Regions from separate parts of the Homo sapiens genome. Here region 1 is linked to region 2. The links are contacts of gene promoters, found by promoter capture Hi-C in blood cells and fetal thymus (Javierre and others, 2016). All regions are on one chromosome and are shown on one strand. Each heading gives the region's core, a stretch centred on a gene start or on the middle of the fragment in contact. The rest is flanking DNA. Distances are from core to core; before and after follow the strand shown. Region 1 overlaps WDR33 (WD repeat domain 33). Region 2 holds the start of PROC (protein C, inactivator of coagulation factors Va and VIIIa).

What was found. Contacts are between HindIII fragments. The CHiCAGO score rates a contact against its expected background, and 5 or more counts as called.
Region 1: a fragment that was not itself captured here is called in contact with the fragment with the promoter of PROC in region 2 in 1 of 17 cell types (fetal thymus); the score reaches 5.3 in fetal thymus.

What each region holds. Positions count from the first base shown.
Region 1 is chr2:127,702,006-127,706,073 of GRCh38, reverse strand. It overlaps WDR33 (WD repeat domain 33), which reads left to right. Exons shown (of 22, transcript NM_018383.5): 22 at 1-4,068. SFT2D3 (SFT2 domain containing 3) reads right to left here. Exons shown (of 1, transcript NM_032740.4): 1 at 832-4,068. The coding sequence ends at 3,898. Among named protein-coding and RNA genes, the nearest start is that of SFT2D3, 2.5 kb to the right of the region's middle. RefSeq lists a silencer at 3,819-4,068. The HindIII fragment of the contact is 1,032 bases long and covers 874-1,905 here.
Region 2 is chr2:127,415,275-127,419,702 of GRCh38, reverse strand. It overlaps PROC (protein C, inactivator of coagulation factors Va and VIIIa), which reads right to left and starts at 1,276. Exons shown (of 9, transcript NM_000312.4): 1 at 1,211-1,276. RefSeq lists enhancers at 3,113-3,172, 3,553-4,315. The HindIII fragment of the contact is 16,432 bases long and covers 1-3,038 here.

The DNA of each region.
Region 1 (4,068 bases), core at 140-2,639, 290 kb before region 2:
GATCTTTTTCTTTTTTTTAAGTCTCACAAGACATGGGGCATCTCCACAAATTTAAGTTCCTGTCCATTTGGAAATTTGTTTCTATGTGTACAGTTTGTCAGAGAAAAACAAAGTTTTTGTATGAATACAGAATGTGATTTACGCAAGAATTGACAGAAAACTAGTTGTGAAGTGCTTGCCTTAAGGAAACCTTTGGTTTCCATCGCATCCCATCTGCCAAGGAATGCACGGTTGTTGCTGATGTTCATGAGCATATTAACCACTAGGTTATCTAAATTAATCTCAGCTGTGAACTTTGTGTTTTTCAACACATTCTGTCACACCATTTTTGTGACAGAAAAATACTTGAAAATTATTCTAATGTAGTTTGTAGTAGGTTCAAATTTTTATTCAGACATGCTCTGACAGATGGAAAATTGTACTCTGAAGAGAAAATGCAATCTTCTGGATGTCCAACGAGGGAGCTTCCCCTTGGAAGCATCTCCTAAGAATCACAGTTTAGGTTTGAATCGCCTTGTTATGATGAGGAGAGGAACTTGATGTTAGTCAGAAATAAAGTCACATGCCCTTTAGATAACTTGAAATCACACATGGAGTTGATAAGGAATGGACCAAAATAGGTCCTCAAACAATTTTGCAACACTTAATTAAGTTTTCCTCTCTTCCTCTTCCATACTATGTGGAAATACCAGTGTTACGGCAGGGCGTACTTCTAACTCACAGTAAGCCAGATAGATCTTGTCCATGGCAAATTCCTTGTTTAAAATAAACATACCATTTAGCCCAGTTTGGATTGGAAGCCAAAAATTCAGTTTGTTATATACCCCATGATACTTTCTATACTGACCTTTATTTTGGTTTTACATGGAAGCTTTTATTAAAAGGACTGTCCTATGGCCACCTTAACATTTCATTACATTGGCAGCTTCAGTTTTGGCATCAGTCAAATTTATTTGGCAAATTTAGTGGTGCTGGAAGTTTCTTTTTTTCTTTTCCTTTTTTGACAGAGTCTTGCTCTGTCACCCAGCCAGGAGTGCAGTGGTGCAATCACGGCTCACTTCAGCTTTGACCCTGCCTCAGCCTCCCTAGTAGCTAGGACTACAGGCATATGCCACCATGCCCAGCTAATTTTTTGTGTGTGTGTTTTTTGTAGAGATGGAGTTTCACCACTTTGTCTATGCTGGTTTCAAACTCCTGGGCTCAAGCGGTCCACCTGCTGTGGCCTCCCAAAGTGCTGGGATTGCAGATCTGAGCCACAGTACCTGGCCGCTGGTGCTGGAAGTTTCAATGGTTGCTTAGAAAAGGCATACTGATATAGTTTAACAGGATATGAAAATTTAACTGGTTCTCTATGAATGTAAAAAACAGCAAAAGCTAATTGATTTCTGTGGAGTGAGAAAATGTCAGCCATATACACTGCTTTTCAGTGTTAGAATCTAGAGACTATTTTTTTTTTAACTTTGAAATTACAGCTTATTTAATCAGCGCTCCACCATAAACATGCTATTAGGAGGCTCAAGATTGCTTTAGGTTATGGGTATTTCTTCACTCACCCCCAACTGGTATAGCTTAAAGAGAGAGAAACTGTAATCAAATTTCATGAAGCTAAAACCGGATCCAGAGACCAAACCCATATCAAGATTAGACTTTTTTTCCCTGAGATTCTAGTGGAAAAATTTTCATTATTTTGGGCTTTAACTTTAGAAACATAGTATCTCAGTAAGCAGATAACCAGATCACATTTAAAAATTTTCATTTTACCTTGAAGCTCTACTGGACTTGACAGATCACATTTTGAGAGTGAATTCATTTAAACAATAAACCTCTACATTATACTTATTAAATATATATGGCATTTAAAAACATCACTGTCAGCATACATACTAGATGTTGTGATTTGAAGCTTATAAAAAGTAGATTTTCAATGATGTTTGATTTGAGAAAAAATTTTTGAGACAAGGTCTCGCTGTTGCCTAGGCTGTGGTGCAGTGGTGTGATCACAGTTCACTGCAGCCTCAACCTCCTGGGCTCAAGTGATCTTCCCACCTCAGCCCCACCCCAAGTAGCTGGGATCACAGTTGTGTGCCACCATATCTGGCAAATTTTTTGAAGATTTTCTGTGGCGATGGGGTTTAACTGTGTTGCCCAGGCTGGTCTTGAACTCCTGGCCTCAAGTGATCCTCCCGCCTTGGCCTCCCAAAATGCTGGGATTACAGGTGTGAGCCACCAGCTGAGAAATGTTGAATTTTTAAGTTTTTATTTAAGAAATAAACATTGTAAAACATCATTATAAAACCCCCAACTATTGCAAGTTCTAGAGAAATTTAAAACTAGAACAGAAATTTAGGGGACTAGAAAGAGCAGCCAATGGCACAAGTCTTTACAATTAATTAAAAAAATAAATCATTCTGAAGATACTGCATTTGCTCTCTCACAAGCAGCCTCCTGAGGTAGGTAACCTTGTTTACTGATGGGGAACAAGGCAGTGTTCTTTACCAAATCTCAGGGCGGGTAGCCTGCAAGCCTACAGTGTGGATGTTGGCCACTTGTGTCACTTCTTGGGACGGGGCTTAGGGACCTGACTTACTTAGGAACATAAATTTTGGGGTTGGAGGAAGCAGCAGTGCTCTACTGCGGCACGACAGACACCCTGTTAAGGCAACACTGGGATCCAGCTCAGGAAAAGCATTACTTTCAAATTGTGCAAGCCAATGCACAGAAAAGTGGTCCTCAAACTTGGGGAACGTAGAATCACTTGGGGAGCTTTAAAAAGGTCCTGATGTCTGGGACCTACTTCCCAGGTTCTGACTGCATTGATCTGAGGTGTGGCTCTTCAAGTAACTGATGTGCAGTCAAGCGCGAGGACCACTGGCACACAATGTTTAAATTCTAAATATATTTTACTTCCTAGTGTATTGCTACTGACAAAACGTAGTTTTCTGGACTCATCAGAATGTTAGGCTCATACCTTCTGGCAATAAATTAAGGTAGTTAAAAGTAACTGCTGAACCTAAAATGAAGGCAGCAGCAATTAGATATAAAAAAATCTTAAGATCAGCCTGCAAATTGTAAACTAGTTTACAAAGCAGGCTATACAATGAGGAATAATTCGAGCTTGTAGAAATCCATGGTTTCCACCAGATACAGGTATTCCGGATCTAGAATTATCTTTCTATTTGCAGGATTTCCGAAGAGACCGTTAAGCATCTACGCGCCCCTTCCTGGATCCCATGCTTCTTGGGGCAGGAAATTTCTTTTGGTCCGTCGCTTTCGTCGTGAAATACACAACTAATTTTCCTTTCATGTTATAAGGCACCATATTTATGATTTTGTTAACTGAAGAAAAAACCCGAGATAAACCATCTTAAGTACTTTTAAAAGTCCAGTGGCTGAATTCGGTGTTTAATCTGATACCCTTCTGGATTCGCTGACACTGGAGAGAATAATTTCCAAGTCTTAGTATAGCCAAAACAAAAAACTACCGTCGCTAAGCTACATCTACCACTGGATTTTAAAATGACAAAACAGCCTGAGAAAAATCACAAGAGCAGCTAACTCGAAGAAAAATCCTTTTTCTTTACTCAGCCGAACCTAAGACCACAGTTACTTCGAAAGCAACTTCTAATAACCGTCTCACATCCTGTCACCAGTTCAATGACAAAATCTCAGTTTTCAGAGCGTGTGCCAAGTCCAGCACAAAAAGCTGACATCGAGGAGCTCCCAACGCTGCTGTCGCCTCCGCTGGCAGCAGCCGCTCCCGGATTAGACTCGCAGGCTGTTAGGGCAGGGCCTTCGCCACGGGCTTCCGCACAGCGGCGTGCAGTCCTCAGCTCGGCCGGCGCGGTCTCCGACGGCGCTGGCTCCGCGTACTTCCCCAGCGGCGAGGGCGCGAGGTCCTCACACGGGCAGCACCTTGGCGAGGCCGGCGCCGCGGCCCAGGCGACCCAGTGCGAGGCGCAGCGCGGTGCCGCCGCCCCAGGGCAGCAGCCCAACCAGCGCGGCCAGCAGCGCGGCCACCTGCGCGCCCGCGCCCAGCACCGTGAGCAGCGTGCTGCGAAGGCCCAGCGC
Region 2 (4,428 bases), core at 27-2,526:
CAGAATGCAGTGGAGAGGGTGCCAGGATGTTTGTGTCCTCCCTGGGGACAGTGGGGTGGCTGCCTCTGCCGGTCTGATGACTGGGCTGAGAATATTAGCTAACGTTGATTGGACACTCATGGTGTCTTTCAAACAATTTTTACAGGATTCACAGGGCAGGCCATGAAGCCAGACTGCACGGTGCAAATTCCAGCTCCAGCACTTACTGGAGGGCAATGTTGGGCAAGATGCTTAACTGCTCCATGCCTCAGTTTCCTCATTTGTAAAATGGATGGAATAACGTGGTGTATCTGTGCCTTAAAGGGTGTTGTGAGAATTAAAGGAGTTAGTCCACATAAAGCTCTCAAAACAGGCTTTGCACATAGCTCATGCTCAGTAAACATGAGATATTATGACTTCAGTTAAGGCTCACAACCACCCAAGAGGTAGTTATTAATGCTGTCAACCCCATTTCATAGAGGGGGAAACTGAGACTCGGAGGAGTTAAGTGGTTTATTAAAAATCCAACCCTTGCTGGTCTCCGTTGATTGCACAGGGAAGTCACCAACCCAGGGGATCGATCAGATTCTGTCCCCCATCCTCCAGGAGTAGGGTCTCACACCATCAGTACACTGCAGGCACCAGACTCGGAAGACTGAGGCAAGGTCCTGGGTCTCCATGTTTACATCCATGCATTACTCGCAGAGCCAGGACTCAAGGCCAGGCCTGTGTGGTTTTAGGCCTGGAAATTCAACCCCTGCCCCAAACCACCAGGTGCTCCAAAAGGCCACAGAGATAGCCCTGGTGGCCAGAGATCAAGGAACCCTCCCCAGTGGATAGGCCACGTGGCCCTCTGCACACCCTACCGGACCCTGCTCTCCATTCTTGCCGACTCCCTCTGAGGCCACTTCTGAGATTTGTTCAAATCCGACACCCCCAAAGGTGGAAGTGGGGTGGGGAGAATGGAGGGTCCTGGGCTCCAAACTGTCTGTTGGAATGGCCCTGGGCCCTGGGGACCCTTGGCCTGGAAAGAGGGAGGCGCATGGCAAAGGGACCTGAGACTGTGGCTGCCAGGCCTGGCCTGTGGAGGGCCTTGTGTCCTTTCACCCCAAGCTCAGGCTTGTTGAGCACCCTGGCTGGAGGATTCAGCCCTCATCACCACCTAGCTCTCTTCTCCCGGGGGCAGCCCTCCCTCCACACCCCTCATAGACCTGCCTGGAGGGGGACTCACAGGGGCGGGTCGTGGAGATACTGCAAGTTCGCCGTCCTGCCGCCATGACAGCCTGGAGTTCGAGTTAATCCATAACCACAAATATTTGCTTGGCCCTCAGCACTGAGGCCTCCCTCTCCATAGACAAACAGTGGCACTAGCACTCCTGGTCCTAGCTCAGCACGGCTTGTTCTGCCCGAAGCCCACCTCTGCCCACCAAGGATGCCGTCCAGCAGGGAGGGAGGTGAGGGCAAAACCCTTGACAGATGTGGTCTCATTTTAGCCCCATAGTGGCTGGCTGAGGGAGGAACGTTGTCCCTGTTTTTCAGATGGGGACATTTTTGCCCAGAGATATTATAGTTTGCCCAAGATCAGCACAACAGGTAATATTCCATATTTCGTCAAATCTAAAATACCATTAATTATAAGACACATGTATTTATGTGCCACCATACAAGAAAAAAGACGCTGTCCCAATGACATGCCATCCCAATTTCTGATACATAAAATCATGAGAAGATGCTCCTTTTTGGGTCCCCAGTGCATAGGTGCTGGGCACTGGGCTCCACCCTCACCTCCAATTGCTCACAAATCACCCCCAATCCCCACCCCCAACACACACACACAATGGCACATAGCATCCCTCTAACCTCTATTTTTCAGGTAAGGACACTCAAGTTTTGTGTTACTCGCCCAGATTCACTGAGCTGGTAGTTGGCAGATTTAATTTGAACTCAGGTCTTGCTGCTTCCATTTGGCCCCTTTTGTGGACCAGTAAGAAAAATGAACGGGATTCCAGAAAGGCTGCAGCAATTTCCTGGCCGGGGTGCCAGAAGGGAGAAGGGCAGAAATAAAGGGTCCAGCTCAGCACCTTTGCCTGTGTCCTGCAGTCTATCAGCATTTATTAAGCGTCTTCCTGCTCCGAACCGGGCTGCACCAGAGATGCCCCCCTTTCCTCCCTGCCCTACCTGTTCCTGGGAAGACTTGCCCACGTTCCTTCTCCAAGTCTGCACCTCTAAACGGGGCATGTGACCCTGCCTCGCTGGCTTCCATTGATTGCACAGGGAAGTCACCAACCCAGGGGATTGATCAGAGGAGTAGGGTCTCACACTGTCAGTACACCATAAGTACCAGACTCGGAAGATTGAGGCCAGGTCCTGGGCATCCATGTTTACGCTTAAAGCAGAGGAAGCTGATGAGAAGGAAGATGCAGGTGTGCAGAGGGGGACTGAGGCCACGGACACCTAGAGAGTCCCAGGGAGCAGCGGAAGGAGGCCCCTGCCTCCTTATGATTGGTGGCACATCCTGGCTTCGGGTGCAGGAGGGTCCCCATGCCCTCCTAAAACCCTATTCCTCCTGAAGTTTCTTTAAATTGGCTGGAACAGCTTGTGTTGATTGTAACCAGATGCCTCCTGCTGAGGCACCACACCATGCTGGGCTGTGGTGGTACCAGGCCCTCCTAGAGGAACAGGGTAAAACTCTAACACTCTAACAAGTCAGGCCCACCTTGCCCAGGGGCAGGTACACATAGGAAATGCTTACAGAATTCAGAGGAGAGGGCAATCAGTACAAGCTGGCATAGCCAGGGGAGGCTGCCTGTAGGAGGTGACACTTCAGCTGGACATCAAAGAGCAGACAGGAGGAAAGACATCCCCCCCAACCCCACCCCAGGTTGGGAGACAGTGGGGAGACACAGAACACAAGCAGTCAGGAGGTGCTAGGAGGGGTGGAGGTGGAGAGGAGGTGGAGGGTGAGGCAATGGATTTTGAAATCGAGACTATGAGAAGTGGAGAACCAGGAGCTGTTTGTGACAGGCTGTGGCAGCTGCCTAGAAAAGCAGAGACAAGCTTCTGGGAACTCAGACAGGAAGCATGAAGACCCCATGCACAACCACAGAAGGCACCAGCTTGTATGTCCCTGTTTGCTTCAGGCGTCGCCCCCGCAAGTCTGCAGAGATCACTGCCCTCTGCTTTGCCTTCCAGGTGCAAGATGTTGTGGGTATTCTTTTGGCGCCGCTTCCCTTCCCCACCAACTTCTCGCCCTCTACTCCTCCCCACCCCAGCACAGGCAGCCGCTCCAGGGCAAGTCTATGCAGGCTCCACACACTGATTCTGACCTGCATAAATGGACTCTGCCCGGGGCACCCATGTCCAAACCAGCCCAGGTGCCCAAAGCACCGGCACCGGTACGAGCCAGGGCGGCTGCAATGCTCCCAAGTGCCCAGTGCTGGGGGTTGGGGGTGCCACGGCTTGGCAGGCTGCCCAGAGGGCGGAAGGGTCCTCTGCAGAGCTCTGCACGCCTGTCGGCCGACGGGGACTCTGCACGGCGGGCTGCGTCACGGCCGCCTCATCGGCTGGCAGCGCAGGAAACCCCGTCACCTTCTCGAGGTAGGGACAGTCCTGCCGCCAGCCGTTCCTGCGATCCCAGGGTCTCTGCAGTTACACCTGGTTCCAGCCGGGGGCGCCGCGCCGCACCGCTCCTGCGGAGGAGCCAGGCGCCCTTCACAGGCGCGGCCTCACCCGCTTTACTTGTCAGGTGTGAGTCGCCCCACGTGCACCCGAACGCGGTCAGGTCCACCCAGGAAGCCGGAGCAGGACTTTGGGCAGCGAGCTCGCTGTGAGTTAGAGAGCAGAGGGACACCTGTGGCTAAGGAATTCGCTGCATGGATGAAGACCCAAGCAAAGGAGCTAGAACCAAATGTGTGTGGGGCAAGGCCAGCCACAACTACCGGAGCAGGCGGGGTTCCAAAGCCCTCAGCTCTGGAGTCACGTTCCCACGGCCTTAAACCTCCGCTAGCCTTTTTCTGACAGGGGGATTTAACTTCCCTGTGTCTCAATGTCCACATTTGTAAAATGGGGTCAGCGTCCGTCTCAGGTGACTGTTATAAGGGTCACGTTAAATCTTTTATTAATTTTTTAATTAAAAAAGTTTTGAAACAGGGTCTCTCTGGCTCTGTCACCCAGGCTGGAGTGCAGTGGCGGGATCACAGCTCTCTGCGGCCTAGATCTCCTGGGCTCAAGCGATTCTTCTGTTTCAGCCACCTCAGTAGCTGGGATCACAGGCCCGTGCCACCACGCCCAGCTGATTTTTAAAAATTTTTAGGAGAGAGGAGGTCTTGCTGTGTTGCTCTAGAACTCCTGACCTCAAGTGATCCTCCCTCCTCAGCCTGCCAAAGTGCTGAGATTACAGGCGGGAGCCACTGTGCCTGGCCTTATTTTTAAGTATTTTATACAAAGTGG